Regions from separate parts of the Homo sapiens genome. Here regions 1 and 3 are each linked to region 2. Evidence: promoter capture Hi-C in human tissues and cell types (Jung and others, 2019). All regions are on one chromosome and are shown on one strand. The core of a region is centred on a gene start or on the middle of the fragment in contact, and the rest is flanking DNA. Distances in the headings are between cores, read along the strand shown. Region 1 holds the start of CELF5 (CUGBP Elav-like family member 5). Region 2 holds the start of EEF2 (eukaryotic translation elongation factor 2). Region 3 holds the start of DPP9 (dipeptidyl peptidase 9).

What was found. Contacts are between HindIII fragments. The study calls those that stand out against the background at their distance.
Region 1: the fragment with the promoter of CELF5 here is called in contact with the fragment with the promoter of EEF2 in region 2 in 2 of the 25 tissues and cell types used here (pancreas and thymus).
Region 3: a contact is called between the fragment with the promoter of DPP9 here and the fragment with the promoter of EEF2 in region 2, in 2 of the 25 tissues and cell types used here (bladder and heart left ventricle).

What each region holds. Positions count from the first base shown.
Region 1 is chr19:3,222,933-3,226,066 of GRCh38, reverse strand. It overlaps CELF5 (CUGBP Elav-like family member 5), which reads right to left and starts at 1,406. Exons shown (of 13, transcript NM_021938.4): 1 at 1,069-1,406. The coding sequence starts at 1,327. RefSeq lists a silencer at 1,466-1,585. The HindIII fragment of the contact is 19,492 bases long and covers 1-3,134 here.
Region 2 is chr19:3,983,906-3,986,729 of GRCh38, reverse strand. It overlaps EEF2 (eukaryotic translation elongation factor 2), which reads left to right and starts at 1,267. Exons shown (of 15, transcript NM_001961.4): 1 at 1,267-1,352; 2 at 2,380-2,594. The coding sequence starts at 1,350. RefSeq lists enhancers at 1,032-1,081, 2,337-2,556, 1,850-2,701 and a silencer at 1,362-1,471. The HindIII fragment of the contact is 12,453 bases long and covers 1-2,824 here.
Region 3 is chr19:4,722,143-4,725,223 of GRCh38, reverse strand. It overlaps DPP9 (dipeptidyl peptidase 9), which reads left to right and starts at 1,382. Exons shown (of 22, transcript NM_139159.5): 1 at 1,382-1,550; 2 at 2,673-2,725. TRG-TCC1-1 (tRNA-Gly (anticodon TCC) 1-1) reads right to left here and starts at 1,154; the gene lies at 1,083-1,154. It overlaps TRV-CAC3-1 (tRNA-Val (anticodon CAC) 3-1), which reads left to right and starts at 517; the gene lies at 517-589. It overlaps LOC105372250 (a long non-coding RNA gene), which reads right to left and starts at 2,344. Exons shown (of 3, transcript XR_936274.2): 1 at 2,238-2,344; 2 at 515-604; 3 at 1-89. RefSeq lists silencers at 462-661, 1,112-1,201, 1,432-1,581. The HindIII fragment of the contact is 28,361 bases long and covers 1-3,081 here.

The DNA.
Region 1 (3,134 bases), core at 157-2,656, 760 kb after region 2:
GGCTGTCAAAGCCACCCCAATTCAGACGCTGGGCCCATGATGGGAACCAAGGGCTGGGGATACAATTGCCGGACACCCCCACCCGGGATGCCATCGGAGGGAGAATCCAGTGGGAGGGAGGCAGACAGGCCTGAGGCCGCCCACGCCTCCCTCCTCCTCCCTGTCCACCCCAGAATTTGGGCTCTGCCCAGATGGACACGTCCAAGCTCATTGTCTTGGGCCTGAGACCCCAACACATTGCTAAGAGGCTCGGCCAGTTTCAACTTGAGCCCAAGGTGGAGGCGGGGGAGGGGGAGGGCAGAGAAATGGAGGAGAGAATGCTGATCCACGCGGAGGTGGTGGGGCCAGGGGGTGGGCAGCGACGGGAGCCTCTCCGCCACCCGAGGCAGGCGAGGCGGGCGCGTCCCCCCGAGCCGGGCGCCCCCAACCCGTCTTCCTTTGTAGTTACCGATTAGCCTGGGGTCCTGGGCATCCGTGTCCCCCGCGGCCGGACCTGCCCCGCCGGCCTGGCTTTGTGAAAATAACCAAAGCAATGGAGTCCGCAGGTGCAAACTTCCCCGACGGGGCCTGGGGAGGCTGAATGAATGGGGGTGGGGGGGCAGGGAGGGGTGCCGGCGTTCCCGAGGCTCCCCTGGCAAACGGGCAGGAAAGAGTGGGGTGAGGGAGGGAGGAAGGGGTGGGGGTCTGGGGGATGGAAGGGTGAGGGAGGGAGGGAGGGAGAGAGAGGGTGCTGTGGGGGGAAGGATGAGAGGTCGAGGGAGATGGGAGAGAAGAGAAAGGGAGAGAGAGAGGGAGAGAGAGAGGGAGAGAGAGAGGAGATGCCGGAAGGTGGGGAGGGAGGGAGAGGGGGCGGAGGAGGGGAGGGGGCCCGCTCGGATCTGTCAGCTGCACCCCCAGAGAGGGGAGGAGGGGTGGGTGGGAGGGAGGGGGTAAGAACCGATGCTCCGGCAGAGGCAGGCAGAGGAGGGAGGTGAGCAGAGGAGGGATGGTGATGGGGGAGAGAAGATGCCGGAAGGTGGGGTGGGAGGCGGAGGGAGGGGGAGAGGGGGGAGGGGGCCGGGCGCCCACCTTTGTGCATCCCCGTGTAGGGGTCTTTGAGCACCGTGAGCTCGTAGATGCGGCCGAACTGCTCGAAGAGCGGCTTGAGGTCCTTCTCGTCCAGGTGCCGCGGGATCTGGCCCACGAAGAGTTTGATGGCGTCCAGGTCCTTCATGCCGTCGGGCTGCCCCCCGGGGGGCTCGGGCCCGCTGCTGCCCACGGGCGAGGGCCGCGGCTGCAGGAGCTGCTGCTGCTGCCGGCGCGCCTCGCTCTCCGTCAGGCGGGCCATGGCGGGCGCGGGACCGAGCCGGCGGCGGCGGCGGCGGGCGGCGGGCGGACTCGCAGCTGGAGCGGCGGCCGCGCCTCCCGCCTCCCTCCCGGGCCCCCGCGCCCTCCTCCCGCCCGCGCCCGCCCCGGCATCGGGACCACAAAGGCGGCTCCGCAGCGGCCCCTGGCGGCCGCGCCGCGCGGGGCAGCCGGCGCCTCCCCGCATCCCCGGGCCGCGGGGGGAAACTGAGGCCGGAAGGCCCCGGGCCCCGCCTACGGGTGGGCGAGGGCGGAGCTGCGGGCGGGACGGGCCTTAGCCGGCTTCCCAGGGGTCCCCGCCGGCTCCCGCGGAGGGCATCGGCCGGAAGAATGTCAAAAGTTGCTGGGATAATGTAGGGGGCTTGTCGTTGAAAGCGCCCGTGATCCTTAAAGTAGGTAACTCATCAATAATATTAATAACACTAATAATATGGCTGGGCGCGGTGGCTCACGCCTGTCATCTCAGCACTTTGGGAGGCCGAGGTGGGTGGATCACTTGAGGTCAGGAGTTCGAGACCAGACTGGCTAACACGGTGAAACCCCGTCTCTACTAAAGAATACAAAAATTAGCTGGGCTCGGTGGCGGGGGGTGCCTGTAATCCCAGCTACTCGGGAGGCTGAGGCAGGATAATCACTTGAACCCAGGAGGCGGAGGTTGCAGTGAGCCAAGATTGTGCCATTGTACTCCAGCCTGGGCAACAAGAGCAAAACTCCGTCTTGGTAAAAAAAAAAAAAAAAAACACCTAATAATAACAACACTAATAATAATTAATCAAGAGCAAGACAAAGTGCTCCCACTAATCACGACAGCACAGGAGAAATGGTAAAAGTATCTTCCAGTTCTATAGGGTGCTTACACATAGAAAGTGTCCTTGGCCCTTTAAGTATGTAACTCATCAATAATGTCATCAACAAGGAGGGAGACTGGCTCGCACTGATAATGACAGGATAGGAGAAATACTGAAGTATCTCCCAGCTCTAAAGTGCCCGTGATCCTTTACGTATGAAACTCATCAATAATATTAATAAAAATAATAATACGTGCTGGCCGTGGTGGCTCACACCTGTAATCCCAGCACTTTGAGAAGCAGAGTCAGGAGGACCACTTGAGCCCAGGAGTTGGAGACCAGCCTGAGCAACATAGTGAGACGCCATTGCTGTAAAAAATAAGAAAACAGGCCAGGCACGATGGCTCACACCTGTAATCCCAGCACTTTGGGAGGCTGAGGCAGGTGGATCACCTGAGATCAGGAGTTCGAGACCAGCCTGATCAACATGGAGAAAACTCTGTCTCTACTAAAAACACAAAAATTAGCCAGGCATGGTTGTGCATGCCTGTAATCCCAGCTACTCAGGAGGCTGAGGCAGGAAAATCGCTTGAACCCGGGAGGCGGAGATTGCAGTGAGCCGAGATTGCGCCATTGCACTCCAGCCTGGGCAACAAGAGTGAAACTCTGTTTGAGAAAAAAAAAAAAAAAAATCAGCCAGGAGTGGTTGGTGTGCACCGTTGGTCCCAGCTACTCGGAGGCTGCGGTGGGAGCATCGGTTGATCCCTGGGATATTAAAGCTGCAGTGAACCAGGATCGCACCACTGCCTCTGGTCTAGGCGACAGAATGAAATCTTGTCTCAAAAAAAAAAAAAAAAAAAACACTTCCCAAAGATGTCCCATAATTAAAGCCCAAGTCCTTCTTGAGGCCCACAAGGCTCTGCGTGTCCTGTTCTGCCTTGTCCCCACCTTCCCCTGCTCCCTCTCTCCCCCTCCTCACTGCTGCAGCTACACAGGCCTCCT
Region 2 (2,824 bases), core at 18-2,517:
CAGCGCTTTGTAAAGCAAAGTGCCCGAAGCATTCGTGAGGGGGAGGAGTGTACAGGTTTATTTTAGAGTCCAGGCTGGAATTTGCATTGCTTTTTGTGGATCCACACCTCCCCCTCTCCCAGCCCAGGAAAAGCACTGCAGTGGCTCTCCTGTTTCACAAAGTGAGTTTAAGGAAAGATGTACCGCAGGGGGTTCATTTGCACTGTGAGAACATCATTCATGCAAGAAATGCTGAGTACCTACTATGTGCTAAACAGCGGGTTGGGCTTTTCATAAGGGATAGAGTTACACAATTGAATGCCAATTCATGAGATATGAAATACATTCAACTGTTTCTTAGGGTCAGATTAGGACACAAATGCTAAACAGTCTTCCTGCGCCTCCCCCTGGAGAGGAAATGAAATAGAAAATGAAATTGTGCCAGTAAACCGCTTAGCCGGGTGCCTGGGACATGGCAAACCAGTCCTGAAATAAATAACTGTTTTATTAATAGCAATCTTAGCTAATTAAAATAGATAGCGTTTATTGAGCGTTGGGTATCAGGCACGGTCCTAATTCTTTTAGATGTCTTTAGTTCGTTTCACTCTCCCCCAAACAATAGGGTGGTATTGATCACCTCCGAGCAGGTGAAATTGAGGCACAGAGAAATCCTAGTAGCTGGTAGAAGAACACGCAGTGTGGTCAAGCTAGCAAGGTGTTTGGTCCACTGCTATATCTACAAAACCCCTAACAATGCCTGGTGTATAGATGCTCAGTATGCATTTGTGGGATCAGTGATTCCGATGCCTGCTTCTTATAAAGTTTTTATTTAGAAATAATTACAGGTAAGGAGTTGCAAAAACAGTATAGTGGTCGCGAGTGTCCTTTTTCCCTCGGCTTCTCCCAGGGGTATCGTCTTACGTAACAATGTCCAAACAGGGAAATTGACTTGGGTATAATCCACAGACTCTATTCACCTTGTAAATTGGTTTTAATAGAAGTACTGGACAACTTGTAAGCTAATATCGTTGCTATGGTTCTCGTTCTCAGCTAAAACGGCGCTCTTTACTTTGTGCACCTGAACACTGCACACCGAGGGCGACCACCGCCCCCGAGATGCCCAGCTTCTATTCTAGAGCGCCGCGCCGGCGCCGAATGGGTTAACGGGCGGGGGGACACGCCTCCGTGCGCTTGCGCGGCGTCCCTTCGCCCCGCCTTCGCAGCGCAGTCACATGACCCGCCCAACCGGCGTCCGCCTATAAAAAGCTGAGTGTTGACGTCAGCGTTCTCTTCCGCCGTCGTCGCCGCCATCCTCGGCGCGACTCGCTTCTTTCGGTTCTACCTGGGAGAATCCACCGCCATCCGCCACCATGGTGAGTAACCCTGCCTCGCTGGTGCCCCGGAGCGGCGGCGGGGCCTCCGCGGGGCCTACGCTGCCTAGCCTGGGACGCTGGGGCCCCCCGTGCCAGGAGGAGACGTAGCGGCGGCGGGGCCGGAGGACCCGGGGCTGGGGAAGCGGCCGCCGCCATGTCTGTGCGCCGCGCTGTTCACCGAGCCCTTTCTCCGTTTCCGAGGGCGCCATAACCTTGCCCAGACCTGGTTGGAGCTGGGTTGTTAGCGGGGATGGGGGTGGGGAATGATGATGTGGCAGGCGTAGTAATGGCGGGCACCGCGGTGGAAGCGGGGAGACAGGGAGGCGCCTTATGTAACCCGCGGGCCGCGAGTTTGAGATCGATTTTCTGCCGGGGGACTAGGGGCGGCAGGGAATGGCAGAACGAGCAAAGCGACACCTGAAAGGCTCCCCTTTTCCTTCCAAATACCTTCTCCTGATGCTGTTAATCGTCGACCTTAGGCACTTGTCCTTCCTATGACTCCCAGATGTACAAAGACTCTTATTGAGACACGAGGTGTAGGCTTGTGGCAGTTAGGGCCGTTCCGGCTCCCCGTTATTTCCTGGGGTGGGTGGCCTTGTCTGATCCCGTTTGCCAAGGGGTGACCTTGCATTTTATGATGAAGCTTCTTGCTCGGGGAAGTTTGGGTGGCCCGGTGACAACGTGGAGGGGGCTTTAGGAGAGGATTCATCCCTTACGTGTTTGGCCCCAAATGAGACTTTAGTATTTGTACCTGGTATCAAGGAAATCTGTTGACACTCAGTTTTATTCCTGAGCACTTTTATTTCTGGGTTGTCAATCATGAATGACACCTATTAACGGTGGTTCCTTGGAGATTGCGGGGTGGCTCTTAAGGGGTGTTAGGCTGGCAAGATTCGGTGGGCTTGGGGCACCCCAGCACCAACCCCCTCCTGGCCTTGGGCATGCTGGTTCGTTTGGACTGAACGCTCCGTGCCATGCTGTGTTCCTGGAAATCACGAGCTGGTCTGAGCCTCCTTGTCTTGCCCAGGTGAACTTCACGGTAGACCAGATCCGCGCCATCATGGACAAGAAGGCCAACATCCGCAACATGTCTGTCATCGCCCACGTGGACCATGGCAAGTCCACGCTGACAGACTCCCTGGTGTGCAAGGCGGGCATCATCGCCTCGGCCCGGGCCGGGGAGACACGCTTCACTGATACCCGGAAGGACGAGCAGGAGCGTTGCATCACCATCAAGTCAACGTGAGCTCCCTGTGCCCTCTGTACCCAGGCAGGGAGGTGCTGGCCTGGCAGCTGGAGGCCACTGGGCCAGGGTGCGCGGGGAGAGACTTGGCAACGTCTCTTTCCCCTGGTTTCTTAATTCATGGGAGAATGAGTGAGGTTCAGTCCAGCGAGACAGGATGGAGAGGCACAGGGATTCGGGGTACTGCGAGCTGGAAGGTTTTCTTGAGGAGGGGGCTTAACTCCGTGGT
Region 3 (3,081 bases), core at 133-2,632, 740 kb before region 2:
GAGGATCGCTTGAGCCCAGGAGGTGGAGGCTGCAGGGAGGGATGATCGTACCACTGCACTCGAGCCTAGGCGACAGAACGAGACTCTCTCTAAAAAATACAAAAAACAAAACACACAAAAAAGTAGTTTGATCTAAAGCAAAATGGTGAATATCTGCAGAAACTAATGTGATATCAAGTATAGATTGATATCTATGAGATGAAAAGCTTCATTTGACCCCGGATGGGTTTGTGGGCCGTTTGACGTGCATTGTTTTAATGGAAGGTGGATTTATGATAAAGTGATAAACATGTGTGTGGGTGGGTGGGTGTGTTGGAAAGGGTGTTTATTGGATTTCTTTTTGTCTTCCTTATTTTCCTTCTTTCGGTCTCTACTGTATCAAATACAATAACAGATATTCAGGAAGAGCGGATATTGCTTTAGCTGACTGTAGCCAGTGTTTCTTTGGTGGGACAACGCAACTATCACTGCAACATTATCTCTATAGGAGAATTTAAAGAACCCTGACGCCTACCGGTTTCCGTAGTGTAGCGGTTATCACATTCGCCTCACACGCGAAAGGTCCCCGGTTCGATCCCGGGCGGAAACAGGTCAGCTGTTTTTCCTAACCGGAGAGTAATACTATTTGAAATTCACCGAAAGAACGATTCTAGTCCCATTCTTTCTCTTCCGCCTTCCTCCTGCCTTTTAGACATTTTTATGGGATTTAAAAAAATTTTCCGTGATTGATGGCTCACGCCTGTAATCCCAGCACTTTGAAAGGCCGAAGAGGGCGGATCACCTGAAGTCAGAGTTCGAGACCAGCCTGGCCAAAATGGTGAACCGCCCCCCCCCCCCCACCCCGCCCCACCCCGCCCCACCCCACCCCATCTCTACTAAAAATACAAAAATTAGATGGGCGTGGTGGCGTGCGCTTGTAATCACAGCTACTTGGGAGGCTGAGGCAGGAGAATCGTTTGAACCTGGGAGGTGGTGGTTGCAGTGAGCGGAGATCACGCCACTGCACTCCAGCCTGGGGGACCGAGCGAGACTCCGTCTCAAAACTAAAATGAAAATTTCAAACTCGCAAAAGTGGTACCGCATGCGTTGGCCGGGAATCGAACCCGGGTCAACTGCTTGGAAGGCAGCTATGCTAACCACTATACCACCAACGCCCTGATAGGTAGCATCCTCTCCGGATATCCTTAATAGTGGGGGATCATGGGTTTGACTGAGTGATACCAAGTCACAGGGGGGTGTCTCTCCCTAACCCACCGGAAGATGTCGTTCATGGGGCGTTACGCACCTTAGGCCGCCGCGCCGCGGGCTCCCCCCCAAGCGCCGCGGACGCCTTGGTACGTGCCTGGTGGTGTCCAATCCCAGGCCGCCGCCTGGGTCGCTCAACTTCCGGGTCAAAGGTGCCTGAGCCGGCGGGTCCCCTGTGTCCGCCGCGGCTGTCGTCCCCCGCTCCCGCCACTTCCGGGGTCGCAGTCCCGGGCATGGAGCCGCGACCGTGAGGCGCCGCTGGACCCGGGACGACCTGCCCAGTCCGGCCGCCGCCCCACGTCCCGGTGAGCAGCGCCCGCGCGCCTCGTCCCGCCCCGGCCGCGACCCTGAACCCGCCATTGACCGGCCCCGCCTCGGCCCTGACCCTGCCCTCGCCATCGCCTGGCCTCCCCGCACCCCGGAGCCTCCATGCACCCGTCTGTGGGTCCCTCCGGCCCCCTGCCTCGTTTCCTCTCCGCCCCAGGCCCTCCTCCACCTTCTTTCCCTCCCCGATTCCTGCGCTGGCCAGGCCACCTCCCAGTTTCTCCCCTTCCCTGATGGGCTTCCCCACCCATCCCGTTGCTGCCCAGGCCACCAGGCTCTGACCCCTTCCGGAGGTGGCCGCACCCAAGAACGTCCTCGTAGCTGCAGACCTTGACACCCTCTCCCCTTTCGTGCAGGCTCTGGAGGTCCCGATCTCCTCCCTCTCCCCATGCAAATGCTGTATATGCACAGAGGCCACCTCCCTCGACCTGCATCCTGTCCTCACTCCTTTACCACTTCCTCCAACCTTCGCCCCGAGGCTTGGTCTCCCCAATCCAGTCCTGATCCTCAACCCTACTTGATCCCTCTATTAAGGGTATCCAGAGACTCTTTTTCCTGCCGAGGCGTTGGTGGTGTAGTGGTTAGCATAGCTGTCTTCCAAGGGTCCAGCCCACAGGGTTCAGCCCCCTTCTCTCAGCCTCCCTTCTCAGGCCTGTCCAACCGCCTACCTTCTTCCCACACAGCCTTAGGCCAGCCCTGACACTTCCCTGTTCACGCTGCCTCTGAGCCATCAAAAGTGGTCTATTCCCTTGGCCCCCACCCCCTGGTCTTCCCCAGGGGCCCCAGGAGGAAGTCACTTGCCTCCCAGGCAAGAACCAACCTGCTTTCGAGGAGCTGGGACTAAAGCCCAGGGGGTGTGGACCGTAGGCACCAATCCCTGCATTCCTCTGCTGGGTCCCAGGGGAATCGGGGCCCGTGGGATGGCTTCTCTCCCAGATTCTGTCCAGGGCATGCAGACAGTGCTGCAGGGCTTCAAGGCAGAGCTAGAATCTAGCCAGGTAGAATCGGGCCTGACAGTCTGCAGCTCCTGAGTGGGGGAGGCTGAACGGCTGGCCGGTGCTTCCATTAACCTGCCACATTCATGACATGTTTATCCTATAAAGGTCTGTGTCCCACGCCTGCAGCTGGAATGGAGGCTCTCTGGACCCTTTAGAAGGTCAGTTGTGCTGGGGTTTGGCAGCCAGGAAGGCTGGGGTGTGGGCTGGTGGGATTCCTTTGCCTGCTCTAGAATATAGACATGGGCAGGAAATGGTTTTCTATGGCCCTGGATGGTTGTCCTCCGCAGGGCAGTGGCTGCAGTTTTTTGTGCGCCTGCTGGAGGCTTTTCTTTCCACCCCTGTCCCCCTCTAGCTGCCCCTGGAAGGAGCTTTTTGAAGGCTTTGAGGAGAGGAAGGGGAGAGTGCTGATTTCAGCAGGATTTGGTGGAGGGGTGCCTGGATCCACCTACACTGCCTGACCCGGTCAGTAAATGGTGTGGATTCTGGCCCTGAAAGGACTTTAGTTTGAGTCTCC